Linked DNA regions of Homo sapiens: region 2 is linked to region 1. Evidence: promoter capture Hi-C in human tissues and cell types (Jung and others, 2019). All regions are on one chromosome and are shown on one strand. Each heading gives the region's core, a stretch centred on a gene start or on the middle of the fragment in contact. The rest is flanking DNA. Distances are from core to core; before and after follow the strand shown. Region 1 holds the start of CEP76 (centrosomal protein 76). Region 2 overlaps LDLRAD4 (low density lipoprotein receptor class A domain containing 4).

What was found. Contacts are between HindIII fragments. The study calls those that stand out against the background at their distance.
Region 2: a contact is called between a fragment that was not itself captured here and the fragment with the promoter of CEP76 in region 1, in 1 of the 25 tissues and cell types used here (lymphoblastoid cells).

The regions. Positions count from the first base shown.
Region 1 is chr18:12,699,859-12,704,917 of GRCh38, reverse strand. CEP76 (centrosomal protein 76) reads left to right here and starts at 2,195. Exons shown (of 12, transcript NM_024899.4): 1 at 2,195-2,432; 2 at 3,805-3,960; 3 at 5,013-5,059. The coding sequence starts at 2,370. It overlaps PSMG2 (proteasome assembly chaperone 2), which reads right to left and starts at 1,876. Exons shown (of 7, transcript NM_020232.5): 1 at 1,754-1,876. The coding sequence starts at 1,810. RefSeq lists enhancers at 2,508-2,557, 2,568-2,867, 2,153-3,050. The HindIII fragment of the contact is 6,809 bases long and covers 1-4,721 here.
Region 2 is chr18:13,557,202-13,562,260 of GRCh38, reverse strand. All of the region lies in intron 4 of LDLRAD4 (low density lipoprotein receptor class A domain containing 4), which reads right to left. Among named protein-coding and RNA genes, the nearest start is that of MIR4526, 51 kb to the left of the region's middle. RefSeq lists an enhancer at 3,740-3,839. The HindIII fragment of the contact is 4,441 bases long and covers 350-4,790 here.

The sequences.
Region 1 (5,059 bases), core at 946-3,445:
GTCCTTCGGGTGTTCCCTCAGCATGTTCTCCCACTTTTCACTGTTGTCACCTACCAATTGCCTAGTTACCTCCTGCAATTCCCTTCTCAACGATTTTGCTACTTGGGTTAAACTCTTCTGTACCATCCTTCTTTTCCTCACAATATTGTATTATTCCCATCAGCACGTAAACATGCTCTAATATCTTTCATTCTAAAAGGCTCTCCCTTGACCCCACATAGCCCTCTAACTGCAACCTCATTTCTTGTTTCTCTATGTAGCAAAAATTCTCCAAGTCGTCCACGAAAACATAAGCAGAAACTTTATCTCTTATTAAAAAAAAGTTTTTTGAGACAGGGTCTCACTCTGTCGCCCAGGCTGGAGTGCAGTGGCACGATTTCAGCTCACTGCAGCCTCTGCTTCCTGGGCTCAAGTGATCCTCCCACCTCAGCTTCCCGAGTAGCTGAGATACAGGTGCAGGAAACCACACCTGGCTAATTTTTATTTATTTTTTTGTAGAGATGAGGTATCACTATGTCGCCCAGGCTGGTCTTGAACTCCTGAGCTCAAGCGATCCTCCTGTACTCGGCCTTCTAAAGTGCTGGGATTACAGGCATGAGCCATCATGCCTGTCTCTGAATTAATGACTGAATATATATTATACAACCCAAATCTTTAACTTGTTTTCTATCATTCATTCAACCCACTCCAATATGGCTTTCCTCTTCACCACTTCACTGGTAACTGTTTGTCCAGGTGACCATCATTAACATGTCGCTAAATCCAAACATACACTTTCTTCACCTTACACATCTCTGGGCTACTTTTGACATGGCCACTCCCTCCTTTTTGAAACACTCTTCTCTGGGGCTGTGTGTTTTATATGTAATGAATAAGGATGACACTTCCAGCTCTCTCCAGCCTTATACCACTCCAAACAGTGCATTTTCCAATGGTGCCTTCTGGGTTCACAGGGCCTACAGCCTATTCTCTCTCAATGTGTCATTCCAAATTCTTGGCAGTCTTCAAGTCCCCCTGCTTACTGACTCTGTTTTAGACATCCATCTTTCTGAAACGCCTACTTTCCCCTACTCCCAGCCCACGGGCCCTCCATCTTTTGCATACTACTTTCTCTATAAAGCCTTTCTTAACAAGCCATCTGTCCCTCCCCTCCCAATTATCTCAGGACCTTTCTATACCCTTTCAAGCTTCTAGCCTAGCATTTATTGCTCTTAGATTACATGTTTCCAACTACAGTGTAAATTCTTTGAGGGCACGCACCTAGTCTTATTCTAATACTCGCACATAACAGACTTTATTAAAACAATGAATGAATATAAAGAGCGATAAAACTGCGCTAACTACCGGCAAGAGTTAATGTTTATTGCCCTATCAGTAGTTCTCCGGTTAACAACGATAATATGCTAGCTTAAGACTAATTCTAAAACTAGTCGTAGAAAGACTTTCTAGGATAAAACTGAAGGATGCCCTGCAAAACATAAGTACAGTGTATCTAGAACGTACGAACACATCACGTTTTACAGGAAACAGAGACTACAAATTGTAGACTTGACTACGTTTGGTTTTACAGCCGACAAAGGTTCTGTTTGGACGGCTGCCTCCGGCTACAACCTCCCTGTTTTTTCCGGCCGAAAACATGAAATAGAAACTAGTGCCCTATTTCTCCCAAGGCACCGCCAAACACCCCGCGTCGGGGTGGCGACACCGCAGGGGCCTCGGGAGGCGGCAGCCCCGAGCGCAAATGGAGACTCACCATTAGGAGGGTGAAGCCGGCAAGGTCGGGGGCCGACTCCCCGCAGGGAACGAACATGGTCGCAGTGGGGTGGCCAGCAGGGACTAACCGCGGCCCTGGCAAGAACGAGGGCAGCAAGAAGGCGGAAGCCCGAGACCCCGGAGCCTCGCGGGGCGCGGGAGGGTCCTTTGAGTCCCTGGGCGCCGGGCCCTTGAGGCCCGTCCAGCTAACTGCCGGTTCAGAGGGCGGAAAGAGGCCGCCGGGTGGCCGCGAAGAGGGGCCAGCAGCGCTTTCGGAGACCCTGGCAAGCAAGGCGATGGGGTGCGCTGAGGTCTCGGGGTGCGGGGCCCGCGGGGAGGTGGAGCGGCGGGCGGAAACGATCAGGCAGCGTGCGGGCCAGCCCCAAGCCCTGTTTGTCCGCCACTGTTTGAAAACAGTTGGCGCCGCCGCCGCCGGGGCCTCATTTCCAGGTCAGCCCCCGGCCTGACGCGGCGTTGCGTCCCCCGGGAGCTGCGCTAGGCGAACGGCTGCGGCGCTTTGTGCTCCAGTCGCTCCTAACGCTCCCTGGCCCGGCCGGGGCCGCGCAGTTAGGGCATCTGAGGCGGGGAGAAGCGGCGGGGAGACGCCGGCTGCCAGCATGTCGCTGCCTCCGGAGAAAGCCTCCGAGCTGAAGCAGCTCATCCACCAGCAGCTGAGCAAGGTGAGAGTCGCGGGTGCTGGGAGAGACCGCCGGGCCGACCCATAACCTTTCCCTCCTGCCCGGCGGCCCCGGGCCGACAGCGGCATCTGCTTGCCGGGACTGTAGCGAGGATTGTGGGGTGCGCAACGCAGAGTAGGCAGAGCTTTGAGTTTGAGGCAGGAGAGCGTCCTCGTCTCCGAGAAAGAAAACGAGCCGAGCAGGTGCTAGCAAGAGTCTGGGGCGATAGAACGAGCGGTCTTGGCGTTTTAGGACGGCCGTGAGAATGAAGCGCTTAGCGAGCGACTTCTGGAAGTCGGATCGAGTGTAAGTTGTATTTGGAGGTTTATATTCTGCTGTAAGATATCAGGTTTTTTTTCTTTCTTGAGACGGAGTCTCTCTGTTGCCCAGGCTGGAGTGCAGTGGCACGATCTCGGCTCACTGCAACCTCCGCCTCCCAGGTTTAAGCGATTCTCCGCCTCAGCCTCCCGAGTAGCTGGGATTACAGGCGCGCGCCACCACGCTCGGCTAATTTTTGTATTTTTAGTAGAGACGGTTTCACCATGTTGGTGTGGCTGGTCCCGAACTCCTGACTTCGTGATCCGGCCGCCTCGGCCTCCTAAAGTGCTGGGATTACAGGCGTGAGCCTCCGCGCCCGGCAGATATCAGGGTTTCTTTACCGCTGAAACATGTGGGTATCAGCGAAGTTGAACCAGGAGCTTCAATCAGCAATTCTCAAATAAGTCATGGAAGAGAAGTTACTAAAGGGTTTGTAATGACGGAATTTGTTAATATTTCGGAGCTCCAGAAGAACCTCCAGTTTCTGCAGCGCTCGCTCGACTGAGTGCAAGATGCTGAAGTGATAAAAGCGACCATTTATGGTGCCCTTGTGTGCCAGGCTTTGTGCTGTCTAGTATCTTTAATCCTCACAACACTATCGTGAGAGGGCACTACACTAGGTTTTTCCATTCTTATCGGTGACGAAACAGATTTATAAAGGGTAAATAAGTTGGCTTGAGGTTACACATCTACTAAGTTGAAAGCTGGTAAGATTCCCTTATCATTAGGCAGATCAAAGTATGAAAGTAATAAGATCATACTTTGATCTGCCTACTCCCAGTCCGTGTTCTTCTGATTATACTATACTCCCTCTCAGAAGATTCCTTTTGGTTGAGTGTTGTTTGTGGAGAAATGGTAACAAAGGTGCCAGATAACCAGTGGAGACTATTTCTAGAATTTGTACTCAAAAGATTCATTCTTTAAAAGCTTACCTTTGTTCCCATTCAATTGTGGTAACAATTGTGCATTTACTGTTAGCTGGAGAACCTTAAAACTTCAGAAGCAGTATTTGACTGCTTTGTGATGTTATAAATTGTAATATGAGTTTTCTACATAGATGGATGTCCATGGTAGAATAAGAGAAATCCTTGCTGAGACTATACGGGAAGAATTGGCACCTGATCAACAGCATTTATCAACAGAAGATTTGATCAAAGCCCTTAGACGTCGAGGAATCATTGACGATGTGATGAAAGAACTTAATTTTGTTACTGTGAGTAATCTTTTAGGGAAATAAATGAGAGTATATATGTATATACTAATGCGTAACACTACTTATAAGGTTCCGATGTGGGGCCTTTCGTTTTAGTAAAACCACTTCAAGGTCATTCTGTTTACTAGTGTCCTTGTTTCAAGTATAGGCTAGCTCTGCCCTTGAATATACTGAATAGTTTTGTGTATCAATGAAATTTGTGTTAGATATCTTATTCCTGTCTCTACAGTGACAGAATTTTCTCTTATTTTCTAGGTCTGTAAATTTGAATATACATACTTTAGTCCAATTAGTTCACCATAACAAAGTTCTTTTTCATTATGATCTGTAACTTTTTTAGATTAAGCGTATTTTTAAAATAAGCACTCTTTTGGGATTATATTCTCTATGATTAACAAATTACAAATTTCTTTAAGAAAATAATTGACTGCATAAGAGTCCTCAAATCTTTTAATACAAATAGGTCAATAATGGGATGATAGTCTCTCAGTGCACAATTAGTAAGTAGGCCTTCATTTGAAAGTGAGGCAATAATGGAAACTGTGACCTCAATACCTGGGTAATATAATGTGAAAATTGGATGGACTTCATAATACAATAGGGAATAAGTATTTTAATACAGCACCTTTTTTTGGTTTTTGAAGTTTATGAACCCGTTTGTTATAAAAATTGACCTAATAACAGCTTCTACTCTGTGATGACACTTTATTAAAATCAGCTCATAGTGGAATTATAAGCCAACTGTTACATAAGGTTTACAGAAAGTTTAACCTTGTTGAAGGTATTAAGGATTTGTTTTTAGCTTTATGTGGATAGTATTACTTGAAGACAGTTTAATTCCTTAGCATTTGATTTTAGGAGTGATCAGTTTACATCATCTTTTATGCAGGCTTTTATTTTCATTATTTTAATTAGGCTAGGAAAATAAGGGGTTCTTTGAAAGGGCCTTACCCTGTTGACTTTAGGTTCAGTGCTTAGTCATGTTTATTGACATTTCCTTAACCTATAATTGTTTTCTAATTTGTTTTGATTTTTTTTTCCTGCCTTTCTAGGACAGTGTTGAGCAAGAACTCCCTTCCTCTCCAAAACAACCTATTTG
Region 2 (5,059 bases), core at 1,321-3,820, 860 kb before region 1:
CCCTCTACCAAACACAGCTGCACTGTCATTTACCCTCACAGCAAGCCACATCTACCTATAAAAGCAGGTGTGATGATCACCTTTCACAGATGAGGAAATGGAAACTCAGAGACATCAAGCAACTTGTCCAAGGACACATTATCTTAAAAACACTGAGTCAGGACCACGATTTGGGCCTGGATCTATAGGACCAGGAAGTTCTCACTCTACCATGCCAGAGAGGAGAGGGATGCCTCCAACACCAGGTGGTCAAGTAAAATTAATTAGCTAATAATTGTTATTGGATATGCTAGACTTTGTACTTTTTCTTTTGTACTGTTGCTCATTGTTGAACATGTTTGGTTTTTCTTTTAGGTTTTCTCTAATATAAAGAAAACAGTGGTTATTTATAATCATTACTGGAGGGTTTGACAATCAGGAAAACATTAGGTTCAGCTTCTCCGAAATCGATTTGAGATTCACAGCAAGTCCTCATTACACTGCACCACTAGCATAAATTATTGTATATTTTAATGCTCCATATCCCACAACATCCAAGAGATGTTGGTATCAATCCTACACTGAGTCAAGACACGCTTCGGCATACATGTCATCACGTCCGTCTTTGCACAGGTGTCATCACGTCCGTCTTTGCCTTCTCCCAACATGTTTCTTGAACGATAATCAGGACACCACTCCCGATGATGAAGTACACTTCCAACAAATGACTGCTCATCAAGGTCTCAGCTGCAGTGTTTAATCACGCAGCAGAAACCATTTATTTTCTCATATACTTCTCTTTCTTGAAATATCTCTTAATTATCTCATTTACTCCTATATAAAAATGGTGCTCAAAAATTTAATTACAAGGGCAAGATCTTAAGGAGTTGCAAGGTGTGTGTCTATTTCTCGAAGAGACATTTTCAAAAGCCCCAAATTCTATGACTGAGGAAAAATAACTGGATGATGCCCCAGAAAAGAGTAAGGGGTGATAAGTTAACGGAAGCCCATTTCCAAAACTAATTACCTATATATTGTTTCCTAAAAATAAATTCACCCACTCATTTCATGTCACGCTCTTAACGCCTTTCAACCTTTCAAACGTGGAACCTGAAGAATAGCTCCAGTGTGGGCCCTGAATATCTGCAGGATGTTCCCTGAGACAGTAAGATCTGGTAACTGGGGAGCTTTACATACCTGTAAGGCCAAGTGACACATCATAAGCCAATTCACAGGGGAAGAAACAAACCCAGAGCTCTTGGGAGACCTTCCTAAGGTCACACAGATGTGTCTCCATAAAAATCAGAACGAGGCTCCTGGTTTTCCTTTATTTCACACAGGCTTGAAGTTGTTTTGTGCCAAGAGAGCCACAGTGTTAGGCACCTGCTAGCTCCCAGGTCACCTGCAAGCCCTTCCAAGAGTCATTTCAACCGCAGGTCTGCACTCTGTTCTCTACTTTCTTCTCAGCCACAGCAACAACTACAGCTTCATGGACACTTGATGTTGGAATTGAGATTGGAGTTTTCTTTAATTATTATTCTCAACTTAAAAAGCTGACGCTGAAAAGGGAAGCTTGAGCTCAGCAGATCCTTTCACAGAGAGGCTGAGAAGACAAACTCTCTGATTTCTGGTCTTCTCAGAAAAGATTAAAGTCAAAAATCATGGATGAGGAGACACAAATCTGTCTCCAAAATCTTGCCACTTTGGCGTTATGAAGGTCTTTAAGTCAGTCACTCAGAGCCCTACCAGGTCATCTGAAGGGCAAATCCATAGGAGCCCATGGGAAGAGACATCAGCCCCCGTCATCCCCACTGGCACAGAGCCTCAGGTACGATGCAGGTCCCTTCAAGGACCAACCAAGGACAGCAGCACAGTCTGCAGGGGAAAGACCCGAATCCCCTTGGGCTCTGAGATTGGGCCATTACCTACAGCTTCCAAACACCTGCTCAGAAGTCAGAGAAAAGGTGAGCAGCCGGACAGACTCCTTGTGACATGGGCTGTGCACATTCGTCCTTCAGCAGTCTCACCTGGGGTGTTTTGAGGATGGGGTTGGCTCAGGCCAACAGACCCAAAAGCAGGGGGACACCCTCTAGGGCTTCAATTCCCTGAAAATAATTCCATGGTTTCTATATTTGCTCTGAACAATGTAAATCAAAAAAAGAAAAAAATAAAAGCATGACAGGAACTAGAGTTCCACTTTTTCTGCTACCAATTAATCCAAAAGCTAAAAAGTACCCATATAATACTCAAAAGCTATCAGAGCAAAGGCCCTGGATTAGGGACTCCTTGTTGCTAGGTAGTAACGCCCAACCCTGTTGATTATGCAACGGCAGACCAACATCTTGGTTTGAAGATAGGCACTTCTTGGTCAGGGGCAGCAAAGTGCTGTCTGGATACAAGCAGAGGCTGTGTACCAGCTGTGCTGTCTTTGAACTGGAAGAGGCATCAGAGATCTCCCGCCAACTCCTCCATGGGCAACTGAGTCCAGGAGAGGGGCAGTGATTTAGCGAATGTCCTGGAAAAGTCATTTGCAGAGCTGCTGTCTGAACCCAGTTTTCTGACTCTCAGGGAGTGTGATGTTGGTCTCTAGACAGAAGAAATAACAAATAGCTTACATGTATATATATACATATATAAAATGTACATACATACATATGTACACAGATATACTTGCATTTCTATATGTATATATACATGTAAGCTATTTGTCATATATATGTGTACATGTGTATATGTACATACATACACATATATATGATACATACCCATATAAATTCACACACCTACTTAGAAATTTCAATTCTAGACAAATAGAGACTAATAATCCTGTTGCATTTTTTTAGCATATTGGGCCTTATATGTAACTAACAAATTATACAAATAACTTGGCTGAAGTGTCCAGACCTTTTCCATGAATGCCATTTCAAGGCAGGTTCCCTCTTCCAGGTCTCTGGGATTTATCTCATTTGTTTGTTTGTTGGTGAGGGGCTGAGTCACAGAAGCAGCTTCAGAAACCCCACAAGGAAGCAGCCATGCAGATGCTGTGCTGATCACCCACTAAAGTGTCCCTTTGTCACTAATCAGTCAAAAATTATTTATTGAGGAAAAATGAAAGTAGGGACTCCCTCTTTCCTTAAAGAGACAGTGACACCTTTACAGATACCAAAGATCAGTGGTGATCCATCGAGACTCCCTGCTTACTTTTATCTAATGCTGGTCTTGCAGCCAGTGGGGTACTACATTCTGGGGTGCTGCCGGTGGCACGTCTAGTGACAGTAACAGTACTTCAGTGCCTGCGAGTCGCATTAGCTGGGGAGCTGGTGTGCTTCCCACTTCTGTGATTGCCCTAGTGCACAGGGTGGCCCCCGATGACTTGCTCTTGTAGAGGGGCAGGGGGAGGGCTGGGTGGGAGAATTCAAGGTTATGTAATGCTTACTGTTGATCACCTATTAACAGAAAGCAATGGTGGCAGAGGTTCTCTTTGGGTGTTCATATTTTATATTTTTCTTACTGTTTTATATTTTTCATACTTTTTAAAATTTTTCTTAGTTACACTGGCTAATAGCAAAATTATTTTGCATTTCTGAGTAAACAGTAACTCCTATGGAAGATTACCCAGAAACACATGAAGTCCTCGTGGGACTCGTTCAGCTAGCTGATAAACATTTACGACTGAGCCATACATGTGCCGATCCTACTAGGAATAAAAATTTGCTACCCATATCCCAGCAAGTGCTGCCAATTCTTCGGGTTACAGCTACATAGATATAGCTCTTCCTCTATTACTGCTTTAATGCTTTATGAGTAAGCTGGGATGTCTGTAGCCAGGTGGGTCTAGAACAATGTTTTCCAGGAATGCTCTTCACCACGTGGCCTGGGCAACCTGCCCCTGCTGGCCAGAGAAGTCGGGTACGAATAGGGGAACTGAGGTAGGCAAGTGGTGCTTCTGCATGCCCCTGTGGCCTGGGCGGATCCCCAGGGATGTGTCTTCAGAACCCATCATGTCTTGTTTTCTTCTGCCAGAGTGACACCTACTGGGAACTATGGAGGAATGCAGCCCACTCCTCCGATACAGTCCCACTCAATATTCACCCTGGTCTATTTTTGCACAAGGGTAAGAATTTCAACCAGCTTGGATAAACACACAAGTTGTGTGACATGAAGATAAATTTGGCAATGGTTGCTTAGAAACTGACAACAGTGCAATCAATAGGCAGTTTCCCAGAGCGCCCTACTCCAACACCTTTTAAAGTGCCAATCAAAGTTTGCAAAACCATTCATTATATTTCAATATGTGGAATTTTTTTGTACCTTGAAAAAATGATTAGATTTTGTTCCTGTTTAACAACTTACTTCTAATTCAAATTCAAAGTGAAAATAATGAGATTGGGCATCAAGAATTTGGACATACTGGTGTCTGGTATCGAGGTTCTTCAGCTACTCAATGCACGTGATGATGGTGATGATCATGATGGTAACAACAGACAATAACACATATATTACAATGCCACATACTAAGTGTTTTACAATTCTTAGCTCACTTCTTAACAATTTCTCGTCTCCCTATAAAAAGCTTTGTCTAGGCCGGCTGTGGTGGCTCACGCCTGTAATCACAGTACTTTGGGAGGCCAAGGTAGGCAGATCATGAGGTCAGGAGATCGAGACCATTCTGGCTAACACGGTGAAACCCCATCTCTACTAAAAATATAAAAAATTAGCCGGGTGTGGTAGCGCATGCCTGTAGTCCCAGCTACTTGGGAGGCTGAGGCAGGAGAATGGCGTGAACCTGGGAGGCGGAGCTTGCAGTGAGCCAAGACCGCATCACTGCGCCCCAGCTTGGGCGAAAGAGCGAGACTCAATCTCAAAAAAAAAAGGCTTTGTCTAAAGAAACCATCCTTAGGCACTAGTGTTTGAGAAGGTCAAGTTTAGGTTAGGATCATGTTCAAAGTGAAGACAAAGTCTAGTTTTTTGCTTATTTTCTTTTGAGACAGGATCTCACTCTGTCACCCAGGCTGGAGCACAGTGTTGTGATCATAGCTCACTGTAAGCTTGAACTCCTGGGCTCAAGTGATCCTCCTGG